3 separate regions of the Homo sapiens genome follow, and all the other regions are linked to region 1. Evidence: promoter capture Hi-C in 16 types of primary human blood cells and fetal thymus (Javierre and others, 2016). All regions are on one chromosome and are shown on one strand. Each heading gives the region's core, a stretch centred on a gene start or on the middle of the fragment in contact. The rest is flanking DNA. Distances are from core to core; before and after follow the strand shown. Region 1 holds the start of BLID (BH3-like motif containing, cell death inducer). Region 2 has its middle 240 kb from the start of SORL1-AS1. Region 3 has its middle 300 kb from the start of SORL1-AS1.

The links. Contacts are between HindIII fragments. The CHiCAGO score rates a contact against its expected background, and 5 or more counts as called.
Region 2: a fragment that was not itself captured here is called in contact with the fragment with the promoter of BLID in region 1 in 3 of 17 cell types (M0 macrophages, monocytes and M2 macrophages); the score reaches 7.0 in M0 macrophages.
Region 3: a fragment that was not itself captured here is called in contact with the fragment with the promoter of BLID in region 1 in 2 of 17 cell types (M1 macrophages and monocytes); the score reaches 5.8 in M1 macrophages.

The regions. Positions count from the first base shown.
Region 1 is chr11:122,114,263-122,118,160 of GRCh38, reverse strand. BLID (BH3-like motif containing, cell death inducer) reads left to right here and starts at 1,946. Exons shown (of 1, transcript NM_001001786.3): 1 at 1,946-2,821. The coding sequence starts at 2,239. The coding sequence ends at 2,565. The region is part of intron 4 of MIR100HG (mir-100-let-7a-2-mir-125b-1 cluster host gene); the gene reads left to right. The HindIII fragment of the contact is 7,623 bases long and covers 1-3,054 here.
Region 2 is chr11:121,693,725-121,697,622 of GRCh38, reverse strand. No RefSeq gene overlaps it. Among named protein-coding and RNA genes, the nearest start is that of SORL1-AS1, 240 kb to the right of the region's middle. The HindIII fragment of the contact is 1,678 bases long and covers 1,296-2,973 here.
Region 3 is chr11:121,752,894-121,756,791 of GRCh38, reverse strand. No RefSeq gene overlaps it. Among named protein-coding and RNA genes, the nearest start is that of SORL1-AS1, 300 kb to the right of the region's middle. The HindIII fragment of the contact is 484 bases long and covers 1,489-1,972 here.

The DNA.
Region 1 (3,898 bases), core at 697-3,196:
AAAAGAAAAAGAAAAAAAATTAAGGGCCCTGGAGTTCAATAATTGCATCTTATACATCTTTGGGTCTTTGCCACCTTGTATGGTGCCTGGTATATAATTAGATCACCCCTTCTCCCAAATGTTTAAATAACCAAATTATTCCACTTAACCTTGTCTAATGTATAGTGACCCAGCATGTTTCTAGCTTTCTCAGTAGATTATGAGTCTCTTTTATAAAAATGGTATGCATTATTTATTCTTCATATTCCATGTCTCACATTATAATAAATTTTAAAAACTGTTAAATTGAATAGATTTGCCACAAAGTACAGAAAATTAGTATTCTATAAACTCAAAGAGAAGAGGCCAAATAGAAATCTGGAAAGCATTCATCAATAAAGAGAGGAAAAAAACATTGCAAAGTTCTTACTATATACCAGATCTTGTGATAATTTATATTCCTTCCCTCATTAATCCCCCAAATAATTGAGCAAAGAAGATATTATGGTCCCCATTTTACAAATAAAGAATCTGATGTTCAGTAAGGTTAAGTACTCTGCCCAAGTTCAGAGTTATTAAGCAGCGGACTTTGGTTTGAAATCTATATTGAATGATCCCATTATCCACATCCTTACTTTTATGCATTCAGTTTTCCACAAGACACTTGATGGAATTTCTTATACTACCTATAAATTTTGCTAGAGTAGAACATTCTGTGTTCCCCCTAATTGAATGTTACAGGCCCCTCTGTAAATTTAGGAAAGTTCCAAAGTGTTCCCTGGATACTTGTTCTGCCTCTAGCATGAAATGTACAAAAGTAGCAGAGAAGATCCAAACCAGACTTTGCTCTCAGAGTAGGCTGCATAACTCCCTCTTGTCTTCTCCACTGGTCTACATCAGTCTTTTGTCTACAACCCTGACTTTTTTAAAAATGGTATTGGATGCTACCATTATGGTTATGGTTAACTGGGGGCATCATTGGTGCCTGAGTTTCTACTCAAATAACATAAGGGAAATCAAGAGACCAAGGCCATGATGACTCAAGCAGTCTCCATGGCTTGGTGGTAAAGGAGTGAATCCTTCCTTACAGCTGATCTTGCCTTTGTATATGTCACATATTGGTCCTGATTAGAAAGGTCTATAGGCTAATTTGTGCAAGACACATTCCTTCTCATTATACCATGATACAGGCCATGTGAAACACCAGATTCAATCTTATAGCCTCTCTGCTGCTGCTAAGTAAGAAACTTCTACTTTTAGTGTCTTTTCTCTCTCAACACAAAAATACTCTGTAAGTCACCCAGATCTGGGTTGCCCATGATTACCAGGCTTTTCCCAATTAGAAATATGACTCATGTTCCATTTTACCAATACATCTCAGGCACAGAACTAGCAAGGAAAGACAAAATTAAAATGTTTCTGTAATTCCAGCCCATCAATTGAAACAAGATGTTTCTGAACTTTTCCCAATGTGAAGAACAAAAAGTAATAGCATTTTGTTTATTTATTTGTGTACAACACTGTGGTCAGGAACTTGTTGCTTCCCCAGGGAAATTGCTTGCAAGCATCACTGAGAAGAGGACTTAACAATTCACACTGATCATTCCCTGTGGTCTGCCATGGCGAGGGTGATACTTTCATGTTTTATAAGCACCAGACAAGAGAGCTGGATCAATTTTCTCTCTCGATATTCTAGTCTCTGTTGAAACGACTCCCTCAGACATCAGCAGCTCCGGGTTCTTTCTAAAAAATAAAGTAAGTACTCTTAGGTCTGTTCACAGTAAGGGACAAGAAGTCCAAAACATATCCCTGCCTTTTACAATTCAGAAATCAACGTGGAGATCTTTCCTACTTTTAGGCAGTACATACAGCTTCGCTGAGGTCTGTGTGTCAAACTTACTGAGAGGAGGACATCGTGGAGACTTATCGTTAATTAGCAATGCTTATGCATGCAAACCTTGGTCAGATGATGTTGTGTTTGGAGAAAAGAGAGAAGAGAATTGAATAAGTACATGACCCCTTGGAAGCTGTTTTCAGTTGAGGATTTTGGTGAGTAGCCACTTGAAATCAAGGGAAATTCCATGAATAGCAGGAGCTGGGAAGAAAGGAAGAGGAGGAAGGATCCCACCACTTTTTTCTTCCCATCTAACACCGTGCTTATGCAAAGCATAGTCCATATGAGATCTGCCTTATAAAAACTTGCTGAATAAAGCGAATGGAAGTTAAATTTTGGACTTTCTTCCATAATAGCTTCAAATTATGGTGACTTTGTTGCCTATAGAGGGCCAGGAAATACATTTCTTTGAGATCCTAGAATCTGAGTGTGTGCTCTACACAGGATGGATAGAGCGAGCCTCTGGCAGTTCCATTTATCCAGAGGCAAAAGCACGCCTGCCACTGGAGGCGCTCTTGGGTTCCAACAAAGAACCTATGTTGCCTAAGGAAACAGTGCTTTCTCTTAAAAGGTACAATCTTGGCTCCTCTGCCATGAAGCGGAATGTTCCTGGACATGTGCTTCAGAGACCTTCCTATTTAACCAGGATACAAGTTACATTGTTATGCAATTCCTCTGCTGAGGCCCTGTAAAAGGAGTGAGTTAGGACAGATGCAGCAAGATATTAGGACAGATTTCGCCCATTATTCAGGCTGCACAACACAGAAGGAAACTTGATTTCAATAAGACCCAATTCTTAACAGTCTTTTCTACCCACTTTTACCCATAACTTTTCCAAATTTGGTTCAAATTGTGCAGAGAAACAATAAAATTTTTAAAAAGGATAAACTGGCTAGTTAAAAGTAAATGGCATTTAATTAAAACAAATCTTGCAAATTCATGAAAAAACAAAAAGCTATGTGATGGTAAACCTTAGGGCAGCGTACAGTGCCACTGTCCTTTGCAGTTTTGAGTGTATTTCATTTGTACATTGGAAGTAGGTACTTGTCATATTATTAACAATTACTCTACTTAGTTGTACACTCAGCATTTGGCATCAGAATAATCTTGTGTAGTCACAGGGTTTTCATTTTCTTTCTGTATTTTTTAAGCATGTTTCTGAGTGGTGGTTCACATAAGCTTTCAATTTTAAATAACACAATCCATTTATTTCACTAGGCGTCTTTATTTGCTTAAAGTGAAGAATCAGAGATTGTCATTGTGTTGTAAATAAGTCTAACCTTTCTTTCCCTTTACAAAAAAAAAAACCTGTGGAACTGAAAGAAATAGAAATTCCAGTAATCTTTTATGAACTCTGTTATTAGAGTGAGTAGAACTAAATCTGTGGGGAAAAAAGGAAAAGGAAATGGAAAAGGTGTTTCAGAGCTTTTACTTTAAGCTATTCTAGTGTCCCCTTCTCTGCTTTCTTTCCACTACCCTGACCCATACCTACCCACAGTGAGAACTGAGCCCGCAGGGCAGCTCAGAAGCTGGGAGGAGAGAAAGAGTGAGAATCTGAGTTATTTTTCCTCAGTGATCTTAAAAGCTCCAGGCAGAAAAGACCCTGCCTATAGAACCTCCCTTTTGCATTTCTCAATTGCATCGGAGAAACTCCTAAATTGCATCAGTGATCCTGAAGCTGTTAAAGTAAAGAATTTTCTGTAGAAGAAAGAAAAGAGAAAGAGAAAGAAAAGGCAAAAACTTAATCATGCCTGGGATCTTTTGAGGTAGAAAAAACTGACAAGAAACAAACTTTCCTTATATTCTAGTGTGTTGGAAAACAGTGGAAGGACTGTTTGCCAAATTGTCTTAGCGGTTCTCAAAGATGGCTGGCCAAATCATAAGAGAATACGCTTAGGTTCGTGTAGTTCTGAGTCCAGCATTGTGGGTGAAGCACAGGTTTCAGCGTAAAGAAATCTGCTGTCTAGAAACCATGGGAAGTATGTCATCCTCTCTTTTCTTTACCATATAGAGATCCTTCATGGA
Region 2 (3,898 bases), core at 885-3,384, 420 kb after region 1:
ACAGACCCTAGCCATGGTGTGATTGCTAGAGTATACATATTAACAAGGGAACCTACTTTGCCTCGACAAGAAGCAGTGGAAGAGAGCCAGATGTCCCATTAAAAGTCCTTTCTAACCTAAATGAGTTTGTGACTATGTGTGTTTATACGTGTGAGGATGAAACACACTGTGAACACCGTTTCTCCTAGTGTCTAAGCTGTTATCAGAGAATGAAGCACTTCAGGAGGCTAATTGAGCACTGGAGGCTGTCTATACTGGCAGAGCAGAGGGGAGAGGGAGAGTTGGAGCCCCCCCATACACACACACACACACACACACACACACACACTCAAGAAAAACTGCTCAATTCTCTAGGCAGGCCAATCTCATCTGATAGAATCAAATTAAACTTCATGTTGCCTCTACAGACAAAATACATTTGTTTTCAGATGCCCAGACAAGACTCAGCTTCCCTAGTCTGTGCAATGGTCCTCGCAGGACTTCTGAGTAAACCTCTCATTCTGCGCATTCAGCTCAGACTTAGCTGCCACGATGTTCCGGCATTGTCTTTCCGAGCCATACTCTTCCAGCCCCTGCCATTCTGTTATTTAACAGAGAGCACGCAAAAGAAAAAAAAATTAAGGTGAAAAAGAATCATACTAAAGGTCAATCCCATATTTTGTATAAAGATATTATTTTTTCGTTGTTTATTATTGTTGGCCTGTTTGGATTAATTATAGCACCGTTTTTGTAAGTGGCAGGGGCAATCTGTCACCCAGAATTACACAGCAGGCCACCCAAGCTCCACACTTCCTGTTATCCTGCTGTAAATCAGTGTCACTCGCTGGAGAGCATGCCACACGTACCCACGGCCGGGCTGGCCCCGTCACAATCAATGCAGTGCCCACCACTCCCCTCTTCTCATTCCCGAAAGGGTCCTGAAAGAGGATTTGTCGAGGAATGCCACAGCCTCACAGTGTGCTGACTTTATAAAGAGACGAGGTGAAGTAACACTTTTCTTTTTAATACCCCGTGGTGTCGAACTGAAATTGCAGCCTGCTATTTTCAGAGGCCTCCTTGGTAAGAGAATGTTTTTTATCTGGAGATACAATGACCGTACCCCGTACCCTGCAGTTCCCATGAAGCTGTTGCCAAAGTCCATGAATGCTTGCTTTATGAATTGGTCTTGCAGGTGTTCAGGGGGGTATGTAATCACTAATGAATAGTCGAAAAACACAGAAACTCTCCGCAGCCTCTGGCACCGAGAGCTGCTGGGCTTTATAATTCTGTGAGAAAACACACATGCAACTAAAGCTTTCCCTGGGCTCCAGCGTTGCCTGAGGCCAAATATTCGTCACAGCCCATCCCTAGGCTGGTGGTATGTTCCAGAAGGGATGAGAGCTGTAGTCGCCCTGTGGGCCGGGAAGTTTTTGGCACTTACACAATTTCCCTGCCCTGACGTGGTACATTATTTTAGCCAATGGTACCATCTTTATTTAAGGGCCATTTATGGAATATCCAGCAGGCCAGACCACCTGGATATTTTATGAAGACCTTATGGGCTTAGGCCCAGGTGGGCTGGATGCCCAGGGAAACAAGGCATTGGGAGGTCAAAACCAAATCACCTCAGATAATCTGCACCAATGCTTGGGCAGGAGGGACTAGAGCTATGGAGAGTCAAGAGTAAAGTATTGGCTGGGTGCAGTGGCTCACACCTGTAATCCCAGCACTTTAGGAGGCTGAAGCGGGCAGATCACAAGGTCAGGAGATCGAGACCATCCTGGCTAACACGGTGAAACCGTCTCTACTAAAAATACAAAAAAATTATCCAGGCATGGTAACAGGTGCCTGTAGTCCCAGCTACTAGGGAGGCTGAGGCAGAAGAATGGCATGAACCTGGGAGGCGGAGCTTGCAGAGCCAAGATCATGCCACTGCTCTCCACTGCTTTGGGTGACAGAGCGAGACTCTGTCTCAAAAAAAAAAAAAAAAAAAAAAAAAAGAATAAAGTATTTTTTTCAGCCAGGCATGGTGGCTCACGCCTGGAATCCCAGCACTTTAGGAGGCTGAGGCGGGTGGATCACCTGAGATCAGGAGTTCAAGACCAGCCTTGTCAACACGGTGAAACCCCGTCTCTACTAAAAATACAAAAATTAGCTATGCGCAGTGGCGGGCACCTGTAATCCCAGCTACTCGGGAGGCTGAGGCAGGAGAACTCCTTGAACCCAGGAGGCAGAGGTTGCAGTTAGCCGAGATCGCACCACTGCATTCCAGCCTGGATAACAGAGCGAGGCTCCATCTCAAAAAAAAAAAAAGAATAAAGTATTTTTCTCAAGCAGGCTAGATAAGGGGGCTGTGCATGGGAAAGAAAGGGTCTTGGTATTGGATGCCCACAGGGCAAGAGGCTTTAAATCTAAAGAGAATCTATCATGTCCCCTCCACCCAAGAAAAGTTACCGAGAATCAAGACTTGTAGGAAGAGGATTTTATTAGAGCTAATCGAGCTTGTCCTTCCCAGCCTCAGCCCGGCAGGGAAGCAAAGCTAAAACATTTTAGATGTGGAAGGCAATGCTTGTTATTTTTCTCACTTTCCCTACCTGCCCTCCCTCTCTTTCATGAGCCCTCTCTGAGCTGATAACTGGAAAAATGTAAGAGTGGTAACTGGATCAGCTCTCCAGCCCTTCGAAAGGCTGGAAAAATAAAAATAAAAACTTGTGAGAGATATCCAAATTCTCTGGTACTTTGAATGGGGGTAGTAAGATCTCTTTATCAATACAGGCTCCATCCCCACATTGAAAACACAACATCAGGGCACTGGGAAAATACAGAAGCCTAGTATTAGAAAAATAGAATATTGGACAGTAGCATGTGGCACCTTCCAGTATCCTCCATAGCTGGGAGCAGCCCAAATCTCTAGCAAACACCGAAAGCCCCTAGGCACTGATAAAAGAAAATGGGGGCTGGCCCCCGACAGGGCCATGTCCCTGAGAACAAGCTTTCAGGGCTCACAGCACCTGGGACACTGAGTCTCTTTCTTAGCCAGAGCCAGCAGTAGTGGTCCCAGAGCAAAGCTAGGACTGGAGTTCAGAAGCTGAACTGTCACAGCTACTTATAAACATTGAAAAATACTAACTTCTGCACTTTGGGGGTGAAAGAATTTTGAACTATGGGAGCTACAAAGATAGCAGACTCTTTCTCACAAAATACTTGCTTTCTCTGGGTTTTCATACCTCTCCTCATTCATGTTACACTAACATTTCCAATCATCTACACTGACACCGGAGATGCCAAAACTACCCTGATGGGTCAGTTACAGTTAGATGGGATGGGACGTCTTGGAATTAGTGATATTTCAGAAACACAATGAAAGTTCTAGCATGCTATAGGAGGATGACTATAGTTAATGATAATATTGGCCGGGCACGGTGGCTCACGCCTGTAATCCCAGCACTTTGGGAGGCTGAGGTGGGTGGATCATCTGAGGTCAGGAGTTCAAGACCAGCCTGGCCAACATGGTGAAACCCCATCTCTACTAAAAATACAAAAATTAGCAAAAAAAAAAAAATATATATATATATATTATACAGCTTCAAACAGCTAGGAGGAGGATTTTGAGTGTTCCCAACACAAAGAAATGATAAGTGTTTGAGAGATGACAGATGTACTAATTACCCTCAACTGATCACTACATATTATGTTCATTGAAACATCACTATGTACCTCATGAATATGCACAATTATTATGTGTCAATTTTTTTTTGAGACAGGGTCTCACTTTATCACTCAGGCTGGAGTGCAGTGGTGTGATCTCAGCTCACTGCAGCCTCAACCTCCTGGGCTCAAGTGATTCTCCTGCCTCAGACCCCCAAGTAGCTGGGGCTAAAGGTGTGCCCCACCACATCAGGCTAATTGTGGTATTTTT
Region 3 (3,898 bases), core at 481-2,980, 360 kb after region 1:
TAGATTGAAGGAGAGAAAGAGTCATCGCCTATATTCCTATCACTCACATTCCATCTATCCACGTTCATACATAAATCATGGAGGATACGCAGCTCCAGAGCCACCTTGCATCAAAATGGAGTCAGATTAAAGGGTTCACCAGGTAGCACTATATACCTCATTTATGTGCCCTTAAAAAACTTAGGGAGATTCATTCAAGTATGGTATGGCTTAAAATGACCAAGTAAAATCTGAACCACATGCTTTCATTTAAATACAGATGGTCAGGTTTTGTTTATGTATACAGAGCCAACTGCTTATACAAAGCAGTGCCCTATACATATAAACCAGCAAAGCCATTTTAGAACCCAGAGTTTGAAAGAGTCTATATAAATGTAAATTACCAACCAAAGGGAGCATAAAATCTATGGATGTGAAAACGAGGCTACTATCTTTCCTCATCCAGCTCCCATTGGCCAGCATGGGCTCACACAGTGTTCTTTCATTTGGGGAGTCTCTGGAGCATGGATTTAGCTGGGTTTCTGTGCCAGCGCTTCAGCTGGCAGTGATTGGGTGACCTGTGTTTCCTCGGTGGTTGTTTGTCATTGTCAGGGGGGCTTCCAGATTTTACAGAGTCACTGAGGTCTTCACACATCTGACTTGTCATCCCAGCACTATTTTGATCCCTTGGATTCTCCAGCAGGCATCTTCCAGGAAAATTCTGGGAGTGTCTTGGCCCAATATTTCAGTCTAATGGCTAGGAGTAAGCTAGCTTTATCCAAGGCCAGAGCTGAGCTCTAGTTGGGGATAAAATGCTACTGAAAGCTGTATTAACTCTTGTACGCCACTAATGTGTTTCATTTGGGACCCTGCAGTAGCCATTCACTAAATGGGATTCTGAGGCATGAAAAAAGCTAAAGTGAGCTGCTCCCAACTTGTCATTCTCAACAAGGGAGGATGTGGCTCACAATGGGGGAGGGGATTGGTTGAATAAGAGGGAATGTCTGCAGACTGCTTGGAGATCCACGCAGGAAGAACCCAGAGAAGAGCAATCTAGCTAAATGAAATTGTTTTCTTTCTTTCCAACCACGGTATATTAATTGGGCACAAATCGGTCCACTTAATGCCAATTGACATGAAGCAATTTCCCATTTGATGGCAATTGAAAACCCATGCTTGCTGCCCCAAACCTGCTTGATTGTTCCAAACAGATTTCCCATCCTAAAGTGGAAATGGATTTAATTTGATCTCTTCAGTCTGTTCGCCATTATGTGTGAAACAGTGGTATTAGTAGCCAGGAAATCAGCAGCTACCTGAGCAGTGGAGTGTTCAAAATGGAGGCATTCCAGCTGCTAGTGAAAATTCAAAGGAAAGAGTCATGCTATAGTTGTGATGGCTAGAGACCTGGGATAGCATAGCTGTTCTTTGTTGTTGTTGCAGCTGTCTCATTGTTTTGATTTGTCTTTTTCTTTTTTTTTTCTTTGCTGTTTCCTTAAGACTAGAGAAGCTTAAAGCTAAGGAGAGTCCTAGACAGCTACCTTGTCCAGTTGTCACTTCAATGAGGAAACCCAGGCCTAACGAAGTTTTGTGACCTGCCTCAATAATAATCTGCCCACTCTTTCTCACTCCTATGTCTTTTTTATTCTCATGCATTCCTTGCTCTCACTTCCAAGAATTCTAGCTCAGAGCTCTATCAGTGGAGAGGTAATGGAAAGAATATATGGTCTTATAACTGAAAGTCTTGAGTTCAAGGGATGTACCTGAGTCATGTGACTTCTCAGGGCTTTGGTTCCCTTATCAATGAAAAGGAAATACAGATCCATGCTTCCCAGTGTTTTTGCAACAATCGAATGAAATAACTTATGTAAAAGCAGTTTACAAATTACACAGGATCATGAGATGTAAAACATTATCCTACCAAAGCCCAAAGCCCCTCCTAGACAGGAGACAGGCCAAATGGGTCAAAGGTTGGAAGCCAGGCAAGAAACAAGCTTTGATCAAGTGACTGTAAGAATCACGAGAGTACCAGTAGTACTCTCCACTCATACCTCAAATCAGAGAAAGATTAGGGATTAAAAAGCTGAAAATATTTGCAGATGTTTGGCATGGCTGTGGTTAGCCTTTTGACTTTTGGAACAAATAACATCTAGTGATATTTGTTTCACTTGTTTTTCTTTTAACTAAGTTGTCAGCCTATTATTTGAAAACTTTTTCCATTCTAAAGCTCTATTTTGTACAGAGATATCTAATCACTTATCTGAACAAAGATGCAAACATGGCCATATGGCCTTTGCCCTGTCAGAGAAATCAGTGAAATCAGAAAAATCAGAGAGGCTTATCCTATATTCTACTGGTAATATACCCAAGTGTTTTATAAAAGTGTTTATAGAAATATGTGCCCTTGGTGTTTTCACAAGTACAAGCATAAATGAAACAAGATATAGGCAGATCATCATAGATGAAGCTCTGGGCTAGGAGACACAAAGTGTTGCTTCCTGGTAGCTGTGTGACCTAGGGCAAGTCACTTCACCTCTCTGAGCTTCTGAGAGATGAACAGGGGTACAAAATGGGGATATGACAATATCAACCCCAGGATTAAGCGAGATGACATCATCCAGGTCTCAGCTCAAATACCGCCTGTTCAGAGAGGCTATAGTGCATGCTGTGGTGGGTCACACAGATCCCCCCTATGAGGACTGAAGCATCATTTGCCTAGCTGCTGTGAGTGTTGGAAGCTGGATCCCCTTCATAGATTGCCCTAAGCTGCCCATCTCGCCCAAAATCTTCCCACCAAAGGCAGCACACATACAATAGTGGCAAATAAGAGGGTCTAAAGGCCAACTCCCCAGCCCCAACTCAAGATACACTGTAGGACTACCCCAGCTTCAAGGCTTTCTGTGGTGTTGGAGGCTGAGGTTTTGCTGTGACTATGTAATAGCCCAACTTCTGTTTCTGCCCAATCCTATTTCCTGTACATATGCTCCTAGACTTATAACAGGGTTACATCCTGATAAACTCATCACAAGTTGAAAATATCAAGTTAAAAATGCATTTAATACTCCTAACCTACCAAACATCATAGCTTAGCCCAGCCTACCTTAAACATGCTCAGAACGCTTACATTAGCCTATGGTCGGGCAAAAACATGTAACACAAAGCCTATTTTATAACAAGGTGTTGAATATCTCATGTAATTTATTGAATACTACACTGAAAGTGAGAAACAGAATGGTTGCATGTGCACTCGTAGTGCAGTTTCTACTGAATATATATCACTTTCACACCATCTTAAAGTCAAAAAATTGTTAAGTTTAGCCATCTTTTTTTTTTAATGGGTAATTTTCTTTTTTTTATTATTATTATACTTTAAGTTTTAGGGTACATGTGCACAATGTGCAGGTTAGTTACATATGTATACATGTGCCATGCTGGTGTGCTGCACCCATTAACTCATCATTTAGCATTAGGTATATCTCCTAAAGCTATCCCTCCCCCCTCCCCCCACGCCACAACAGTCCCCAGAGTGTGATGTTCCCCTTCCTGTGTCCATGTGTTCTCATTGTTCGATTCCCACCTATGAGTGAGAATATGCGGTGTTTGGTTTTTTGTTCTTGTGATAGTTTACTGAGAATGATGATTTCCAATTTCATCCATGTCCCTACAAAGGACATGAACTCATCATTTTTTATGGCTACATAGTATTCCATGGTGTATATGTGCCACATTTTCTTAATCCAGTCTATCTTTGTTGGACATTTGGGTTGGTTCCAAGTCTTTGCTGTTGTGAATAGTGCCACAATAAACATACGTGTGCATGTGTCTTTATAGCAGCATGATTTATAGTCCTTTGGGTATATACCCAGTAATGGGATGGCTGGGTCAAATGGTATTTCTAGTTCTAGATCCCTGAGGAATCGCC